3 separate regions of the Homo sapiens genome follow, and all the other regions are linked to region 3. The links are contacts of gene promoters, found by promoter capture Hi-C in blood cells and fetal thymus (Javierre and others, 2016). All regions are on one chromosome and are shown on one strand. Each heading gives the region's core, a stretch centred on a gene start or on the middle of the fragment in contact. The rest is flanking DNA. Distances are from core to core; before and after follow the strand shown.

Region 1 (2,735 bases), core at 115-2,614, 580 kb after region 3:
AAAAATCTAATCCCTTTATATGAGGATACAATTAGAAACATTAGTTATATTACCAAGGCTTTGACTGAAAATGTCATATTTAAGAATGTGCATAAAACATCCGGCTTTAAGAGTTCTCAGCCTTATCGTGAGTAAAACCTGTCACTTCCTAGCAGGCCCAAGAACCTTAAGACCCTAAGTGAAGCCTAAAGTCTACCTCTCTTTGACTTCCTAGCCTCAAGAGATTTTTAAATCTGAAATTCCTATATGATCAATGTAGGAAAAAAACGTTTCTTAAAAAAAAAACTGCAATACACCTGTTGTTATCCACACGTACACCGGACTGTTTGATGAATTCTCCTAGTTTCCTCCAGGATTGGACTACAACACGCCAACTAAAAACAAAAGCTTCTGTTCGTAAAGCCCTTTAAGCTGAAACTATTCAAATTTTAAGAAACAAGTCTCATGCCTGATATATGAGCCACACAACAATATCATGACCAGAGACATTCAAACATAAATCAGGAGGAGAATCTGATGTTTTTGTGAAAGCTGTAGACAGCTTTTCCCATGACATCAGAACCATATCATAAGACTTTTACCCCCACTTAATGCTACTTTTTTCACTTGACAGGATAATGGTGTAATTGAAATTTCATAATCAATAGCTTCTGCTGGTAACTTAACAGAACCTAACCCAAGAAATCCTTTAGTATTCATTGGTTAAAAAAGAAAATATCTGTGCTATTGCTAGTACTACATGCTGTACCTAGATAAATCCCTCTGATAAAGTTGAGACCCATGTACACAAAATAAGAAAACAGGTAGCATGATTACATGGTCTCACCTAATTCCCTGTGGTCACTGGTCTACTCAATTAGTTGTTCTTAAGCCTAGGTTCATGGCTCAAAACCATTATGCAAATTGGAATTGTCATATTACTATTAACTTTGTTACTTGTTAAATTTCTGCAGAAGTACCACACCTAACAATAACGCTGGCCCAGCATTTTGAGTAACAAAGACTATGGAATAGACAAAAATCAAACTTAATAATGGAATCCAGGTAGACACAGCCTGAGAGTCATTCCCTTCAGACGTCCCTTCTTGCCCAAATGTGGCTTAAAAGCATTTTGACACGGACTCCTAGTTGCTAATCATTCTCCCCAACATGGGATGAGACTAGAAACCAGGACTGGTCTATGCTGGTACTATGGGATGTCAAAACCTAACTACAGGATGACTGATCAGAGAAAGATACTGATCAAAAGGGGAAAATGTGAAAGTTGTTAAAATAAAAATGGAGCCACTAATGTTAAGAAAACCCTGACAAAGAGAGCTGAGGAAGGCCATGAAGAGAAGGTTCTCAGGCTTCTATGACTGGTTAACAAAAAAGACTATAAAAAACACAGCTCTGCACAAAGGCCATCACAGCCTTATACAAAAAATATTTTTGCTGCAAGGACATCTGCCCAAGAAACTGTCTGTCCAATCTCAGACTGGCGTCCCCCTTGTTACTGATCTTTGTAGTCAAGGATTAAGTATTTCAAAACAATTATGTAATCCTCATTTTTTCCTTTAAAAACTTTTGTTTCCCTGAATAGTTTACTATGGCATGTGTATTCCCATTGCAATGTATTATTCTCAAATAAATGTCTTTTAGAGAGTCTATCTGCTTATTATTTAGGTTGACATAACAGTGCTAGAGACTCTAGTGGCAATCCACTAGGTGTTTAATAGGTACTTGTTAAATATACTAGCACACAGAATTGTGAAAAAGAGTCTTCAAGAAATTCAAATATTTTATGAAAACTACAAGATTCCAAATGGAATTAATTTAAAAATAATGCATCTGAATTTTAAGAACAAGTTGTTTTTAAAAATTCTATATAAGGACTAAGTATATAGTTTTAGGTTTTACATTTAAGTCTTTAATCCATCTTGATTTGATTTTTGTGTGTCGTGTAAGGAAAGGATCCAGTTTCCATCTTCTGCACATGGCTAGCCGCTTATCTCAGCACCATTTATTGAATAGAGTCCTTTCCCACACATAGCAAAATTTTCAAAATATAGAATAACTTTTAATGAGCCATAAGAAAATGCTAGTGCTGTTTTAATCTAAACCATTACCACAATGAGTTTACAGTTAGTGTAAAAATGACTTGAATATATTTTTCTAATATAACTCTTTTTCCCAAATCAGTTAAGCTAGCATGTAAACTCTATGGTAGTAGTATGGGTTACTACATCTGTCCTACATATTATTCTATACCCTAGAAACCTAGCATATTCTAGCCTTTAAATTCTAAGTTATTTGAGAAAGTTAAGTACAGCTTAGCAAAACTTGTTTATTCTAAGCTTTAACTCAGAACACCAATCAAGTAATTTTATCAGGATTGGCAAAGGACCATCTTTCTTTTCACCATTGCCTCAGTTGTTTAAAAAACAAAAACAAAAACTTAGTACCTGGCACAGATGTAGAATCCTCTGCACACCAGCGACAACTGCTCCAATGATCTGAGGTCCAAGTCACTAGACACCACCCATCGGAAGATGTACATCAGGACCTCCATTGGCAGCACTGCAAAAGAAAATCATCCTTCAGTGACTCTCCTCTATGTCATTCTATTGTCACAACTACATTCCCAGTACATTTATACCTTCCTAGAAATTTATAATCACACCCTCTGTATTGCTCAGAGCTAAAGCATGAATGTATTTAGCTACTCAATAATAATAATGGTTCTTAACATCAAG
Region 2 (2,863 bases), core at 209-2,708, 550 kb after region 3:
AATACAAAAATTAGCTGGGAGTAGTGGTGTGCACCTGTAGTCTCAGCTACTTGGGAGGCTGGGAAGGAGAATCACTTGAACCCAGGAGGTGGAGGTTGCAGTGAGGTGAGATTGTGCCACTGCACTCCAGCAAGCCTGGGTGACAGAGCGAGACTCCATCTCAAACAACAACAACAACAACAAACCACTGTTGGGACTATTATTCTGATCTTAATAAAAACGTAGTATGAATAAAATATCCAAAGTAGGGACTTGTTTCACTGCCTATTTAGTATAAAAAGTCATTTATTATTTAGCTTAAGGTGGCAGACCAAATGTATGCCTTTGCTGGAGATCTTAAATGTCAGTAATGAAGTATAAAAAAATGAGCCAAGAGAACATAAGGGGGATAATGAGTGCATCAGAAACGTCGACAAATTTCTGGGAGATGGGAAGTGGATGAAGTGTATATTGATGTACAATGAGGAGCCCCAGAGAAGTGAAATGGAAAGGCAGGACCCTGGAAAGGCTGCGGGCTGATGTCACTGAGCTGAAGGGTAGGAATGAGGAGAGATGGGCACCGGAAACAGGACCAATACTTGAAAGTCTTTCTGCAGATCAACTGCTACCAGTTAGGACTTCACCCAAACATGCATCCCAGGGAATACAAACAGTTAAAAAATAATAAAAATACTAAAAGTAAGACTTGCCTCAAGAGAAATTGAATTAACTATTCTAGGGGAACTGAGGCTTCAACTTGGGTACTTGTTCCCGAGAATAAAGTATTTTGTATTGTTGCATTTTGGAGGTGAAGGTCTAAAGGCACTCTGAAGTGAAGGCTGTCTGACATTTGATCTTGATGCTGGAAACTTTAAAGCCACAGATAAGAAAAGATGGCCCTTGCTGCTATGTAGCTGTGTCCTAAGCCACTTGTGTAGACATAATTATTGGGTTCCAACTTTTTAATTAACTGCAGATAAAATACAAAAGACCCCATAATAGTTCCAGCACAGAATGTCACTGTGGTAAAGATGTAGTTGACAGAGGCAAAAGAGAAAAAAAGTGGAAGAAGATTTGGGTAGGGTCAACACATTTTTGTGTGGGAGGGTATCCAGAGACACTGGCTAAGGATGGAATAATAAACAGTGATTTAATGTTTCTTTAAGTTGCAAAGATGTCTAGTAGAGGCATGGAGAATAATCATACAACAGCATATGACTGCAAAACGTCAAGAAGAAGAAGGTAGAGACAGGGAAAGGAGCAAAAACACAAGTGAGGTAAACCCCATTTTTCATCCTGGGCAATCAATAGAGATCCAGATTTGATACATTAAGAAACTGAGGAATAAGCATGTGATTTAGAATGATCAGGGTTACCTCAGAAAAACCAAAGTCAGAAAAGGTTTAAATTTGCCATGTCTTGGGGAGCATTGGGGGAGGGGCAATAATTTTTAGCATAAACTCTGTGTGTACTATCGTATTTTTTTACCACGTACAAATGATTTTGATCCAAAAATGAAATAAAAATCACTAGATGGACTTATCTTAATGTAAACTGGTCACACATATTTTTAATAGCTTATGTTGTTAGTTGCATATGATTAGTAATATTTGTGGAGGTTGTTTTGTTTTGTTTTGGTAGAAACAGGGGTCTCCCGTGTTGCTCATGCTGGTCTCAAACTCCTGGGCTCAAGGGAGGCTCCCGCCTCAGCCTCCCAAAGCACTGGGATTACAGGCATGAGTCACCACGGCCAGCCACCGTTTGTGTTTACATATAAATAGTAACAGCTGTGCTACTATTCAGTATTTTTCTACAAACAACTACTGACATATTAGCTGATCCCAAGGACACTAATGGCCCTCCATTTAGGGGAGTGCTTTCCTGTTCACTTGTGGGTACTATTTAATTAGGAAATGTGTAAATGAAGAGGACTAAGCTCAGACAGGCAAGGGAGAAGATATTCCTGGCCTTGTCAATGGAGTAGGATAGGGGTGAAGGCAATTGGCTGAGGTGCTGCCAGACTGTATGTGGCCTTGACCCCAGATGGCACCTTAACAGTCATTGCTTTTGTCCACCTGTCTCTGCCATGGAGTCCACAAGGAGGGGTCACAGCTAAGCTGGACTTAGACATCTGGGCTGGGTTGGTAGGTGGAAATGCTGTCTTTGTGGCCAAATGGGTCCTTCCAACCTCCTGGGATGAGTGAGAGAGAGAGAGAGACCTTCAAAAGTAGGGAGAGGGGAGGACTGGGGGAGAAACAGTGGAAACTAAACAATTTAATGTCACGATGAAGGGGAAAAAAAATGGGACAAATTTTAAAAGCAGAACCAACTTCTAAACTTTAATTCTGATGTTCAAAACAGAAAGAATAAAGTTCAGATTCTGACTAGAGTCCCACCCTTAAATTTAGAGCATTGTCCTGGGAAGACAGAATGTGGCAGGCCCTGGGTGATTTTAGTGGTTTATTTGCTCATTCTGCAAATATTTACATAGAAGCCACTTCCACAACAGTTTTTTCTGACCAGGAGAGAAGACACATCCCCATAGAGTTCTTTTCCTAGCTATTTTTTGCCTTGCCAGGAAAAAGTGATTTTGGAATCTAAACATTTCCTGCTAAGCCTTGGGATTTTTGATTTGTCACAGAGCACCTGTGTTCCTTTTGGTTTAAAATAAAATGATATTTGGATTGTAATCTAAAGACATAAGATTTTGGGAGCTGATGGAGGGTAAGATTTAAAAGCCTGAGTGTTCTTGTTTCTTCACCTTCCCTTTGTGGGACTTCATGCCAGCATTTTTCTCTTTGTGAGTACTACAAAAACAGAATTGCTATCCTCTTCTCTGAGGATAGTAAATCACTTGTATCTAGTTCCCTGTCAGTCCAGAATC
Region 3 (2,700 bases), core at 8-2,507:
TTCCACCCTTCTAATTATAGAGAACTGGCTCTTTTACAAGGCTGCCATTTTCATCATTAGAGCCCAGCTGTTATCTGCACTCTTCTTCTTTATTTTAAGGTATTTCCCCGGAATTACTGCACATTAAAATTTTTGACATTTTAGGCTACAGAAATTTTGACTGAATCCTCTTGCTGTACAACAGCCCCCACAACACTTGCTCTCAGGTGTCTCACTTATCTTAAAAGTCCTCTCTTTGTCATACTTCTCTTCAGATGTTTCCAACATGCACCGCCTCTGAAGTTTTTTTGTTCCAGCCATCTCTGTAGGATGAAGAGTAAGTTCTCAGAGTGCCAAGATAGCAAAGTGATGCTTAACACATCATCTGACTAATGAAGAATAATTAGAACATTTATTTTCCATGATCTATTTTTCTATTATTGTAGCTTAATATCATGTTAACTTTTTAAGCAACCATTTCACACTCTTGGTGCCCATTAAAATTTGTAGTCAATTATAATCATTGAATTTTTTTTCTCATGAAGTGTTGCCAAAGTAGATATTTCCCAACCTGCATGTGTGCTAGAGTGTGTGTTAATCTCAGACCTCTCTGTGATCACTGGAAAATCGCTGGCCATAAACCTCACTTTATTAAACTCTAAAATGAGCCTAATAATGTTAGAACCACATGTGAGGTGCTGTAGAAAGTACCATATCTGGTAGATACGTGCTCCTCTTATAAAGAATAGGCTATTTATAACCACTATCTTCTCAAAAGACCGTAGGTGACCAGGCTAATTACCTTTCCAAAAACTAATTTTTAATCCACAGCCTTCCCTTCTCCTTACTCTACTAGAATCCCTGCTTCCAACAATTAAACATCCATCGAATTAATTTTCTTTCCTCTCACACAGGTTGATTGAGCTCTTGACTTTCTTTCTTTCTTTCTTTCTTTCTCTTTCTTTCTTTCCTTCCTTCCTTCCTTCCTTCCTTCCTTCCTTCCTTCCTTCCTTCTTTCTTTCTTTCTTTCTTTCTTTCTTTCTTTCTTTCTTTCCTTCTTTCTTTCTTTTCTTTTCTTTTCTTTTCTTTTTCATTTTGAGCAGCTGGTCAGTTCAAGAAACCCAACCCCTCTCCACCAACCGGAGCCCCGCCCCCTGCCCCCGGCTGGCTGGAGAGTTGAAGGCCAAAGACGGAGAGGAGGGCGCTCGCTGCTCTGCTCCCGGGCCAAAGCGCAGGCTCGGCCTGCCTTATCCAGTGGGACGGCAAAGGGTCACTCTAAAAATTGCTGCAGCCGGGTCTTGTCAGGTGGCTGCTGGTGGCTCCCCACCGGATTTTCCTTCTCCCTCTCTCTATCTCCACAGATCCCTTCCCAAGAGGAGTCTCCTGCTAAAACTTCATCATCTCAAGTTGACCTGCCACTTCACCCAAGGAGGGTAAGGAGCTGGGACCAGAGTCGCCAATTCCTGCCTTCTAGATCCTGGGGTGTGTGTGGATGTGTGGGTGGGAGAGGGTGGGCTGAGTGTTTGTGGTTGTAGAGCTATTTTACTGAAGGGAGTCTACAGCTGGGTCAGGTGGTTCATGTCCCTAATCTGAAGTTGGGAGACAGAAAACATTTTTTTGAAATCTGAGAAATGTAACGTGTTAGGAGAACTTCACGGTAACAAAATGCATGACAATGATGCCCTACAAATGTAAAACCACCTGTAATTTCTAACAAAAATTCTAAATCTCTAAAGCTTAAGATATATTTTTCTTTCACTACTTTATAGAGAAGGAGAAGGAGAGAAAATTCTTAGGCTTTGTTCACAAAGTTTAGAATTCTACCTTTATTTTTATCAAGAATCATTTTAACATTTGTTACTGATCAGTTTGGATGAAATGTTACCAGTTTTAACTAAATCTGTAGCACAAAACTCAGACAACTCTGAATTCCCAGAAATATAACCTATTGATGAAATGGAAATATCCTTCCTAAAAAAAAAAAAAAATTTGTTATTTGGCTAAAAAATAGGTTTTTGTCTTAAATGTGCACATATCATTATGCTGACATATATTTTATATTAAAAATCATGTTGGAAGTGTAATGGTGAAGTGGAAACCACCCCCCTACACCCCACCCCGAGGTTGGACTTAAAATGGCAAGCCACAGAAGCCAGGAGGGTTTCTATTCCTGGAGGTAGGGCTGATGAGCCCCGACAGATGCAGCGATAGGAATGTGGCCAGGACAGGGAGCAGGCGCAGCTGATTCGCCCCTTTGGCAAAAAGACATTCTGGGATCCCAGTTCATACTGGCATGAGAGTGACAGTGACACTTTAGCACACATGGCTTTCCAGTTTACCCTGTTGTGGACTCCCAGGAAGCATGGGTGCAGGGCAGTGGGAAGGAAAATGTTCTCAAATATGAAGTAACAACTCTTTTCTATAACCAGTTCTGGGGGTCTTCATCTGGGATCAGCTGGGGCCAGGAAGAATTTAAGTGCAATACTTTCACATGGACTTGCCCACTTACAGACAAGGGTCCAATTATGTACCATTGCTTGGCAGCATTATTCTCAGTCCAGTCATTTTGGATCTATTTCGGGTTATGGATCTCATGAAAACGCTGAGCCCAGTGTGTGGAAAGTACACATAAACATATGCACACAGTATGTTTCAGACTATTCCGCAGGACTCATGGACTCACCTGATACCCAGCCCTGATCAGGAATGCCAGATACAAGT

Evidence for each region. Contacts are between HindIII fragments. The CHiCAGO score rates a contact against its expected background, and 5 or more counts as called.
Region 1: a contact is called between a fragment that was not itself captured here and the fragment with the promoter of KLHL31 in region 3, in 1 of 17 cell types (M0 macrophages). The highest score is 5.4, in M0 macrophages.
Region 2: a fragment that was not itself captured here is called in contact with the fragment with the promoter of KLHL31 in region 3 in 3 of 17 cell types (naive B cells, M2 macrophages and M0 macrophages); the score reaches 9.6 in naive B cells.

What each region holds. Positions count from the first base shown.
Region 1 is chr6:53,082,328-53,085,062 of GRCh38, reverse strand. It overlaps FBXO9 (F-box protein 9), which reads right to left. Exons shown (of 13, transcript NM_033480.3): 7 at 2,445-2,559. Among named protein-coding and RNA genes, the nearest start is that of FBXO9, 18 kb to the right of the region's middle. The HindIII fragment of the contact is 1,949 bases long and covers 390-2,338 here.
Region 2 is chr6:53,119,133-53,121,995 of GRCh38, reverse strand. No RefSeq gene overlaps it. Among named protein-coding and RNA genes, the nearest start is that of GCM1, 28 kb to the left of the region's middle. RefSeq lists an enhancer at 1,540-2,039 and a silencer at 1,911-2,205. The HindIII fragment of the contact is 9,228 bases long and covers 1-2,863 here.
Region 3 is chr6:53,664,313-53,667,012 of GRCh38, reverse strand. KLHL31 (kelch like family member 31) reads left to right here and starts at 1,257. Exons shown (of 3, transcript NM_001003760.5): 1 at 1,257-1,412. The HindIII fragment of the contact is 2,006 bases long and covers 1-1,717 here.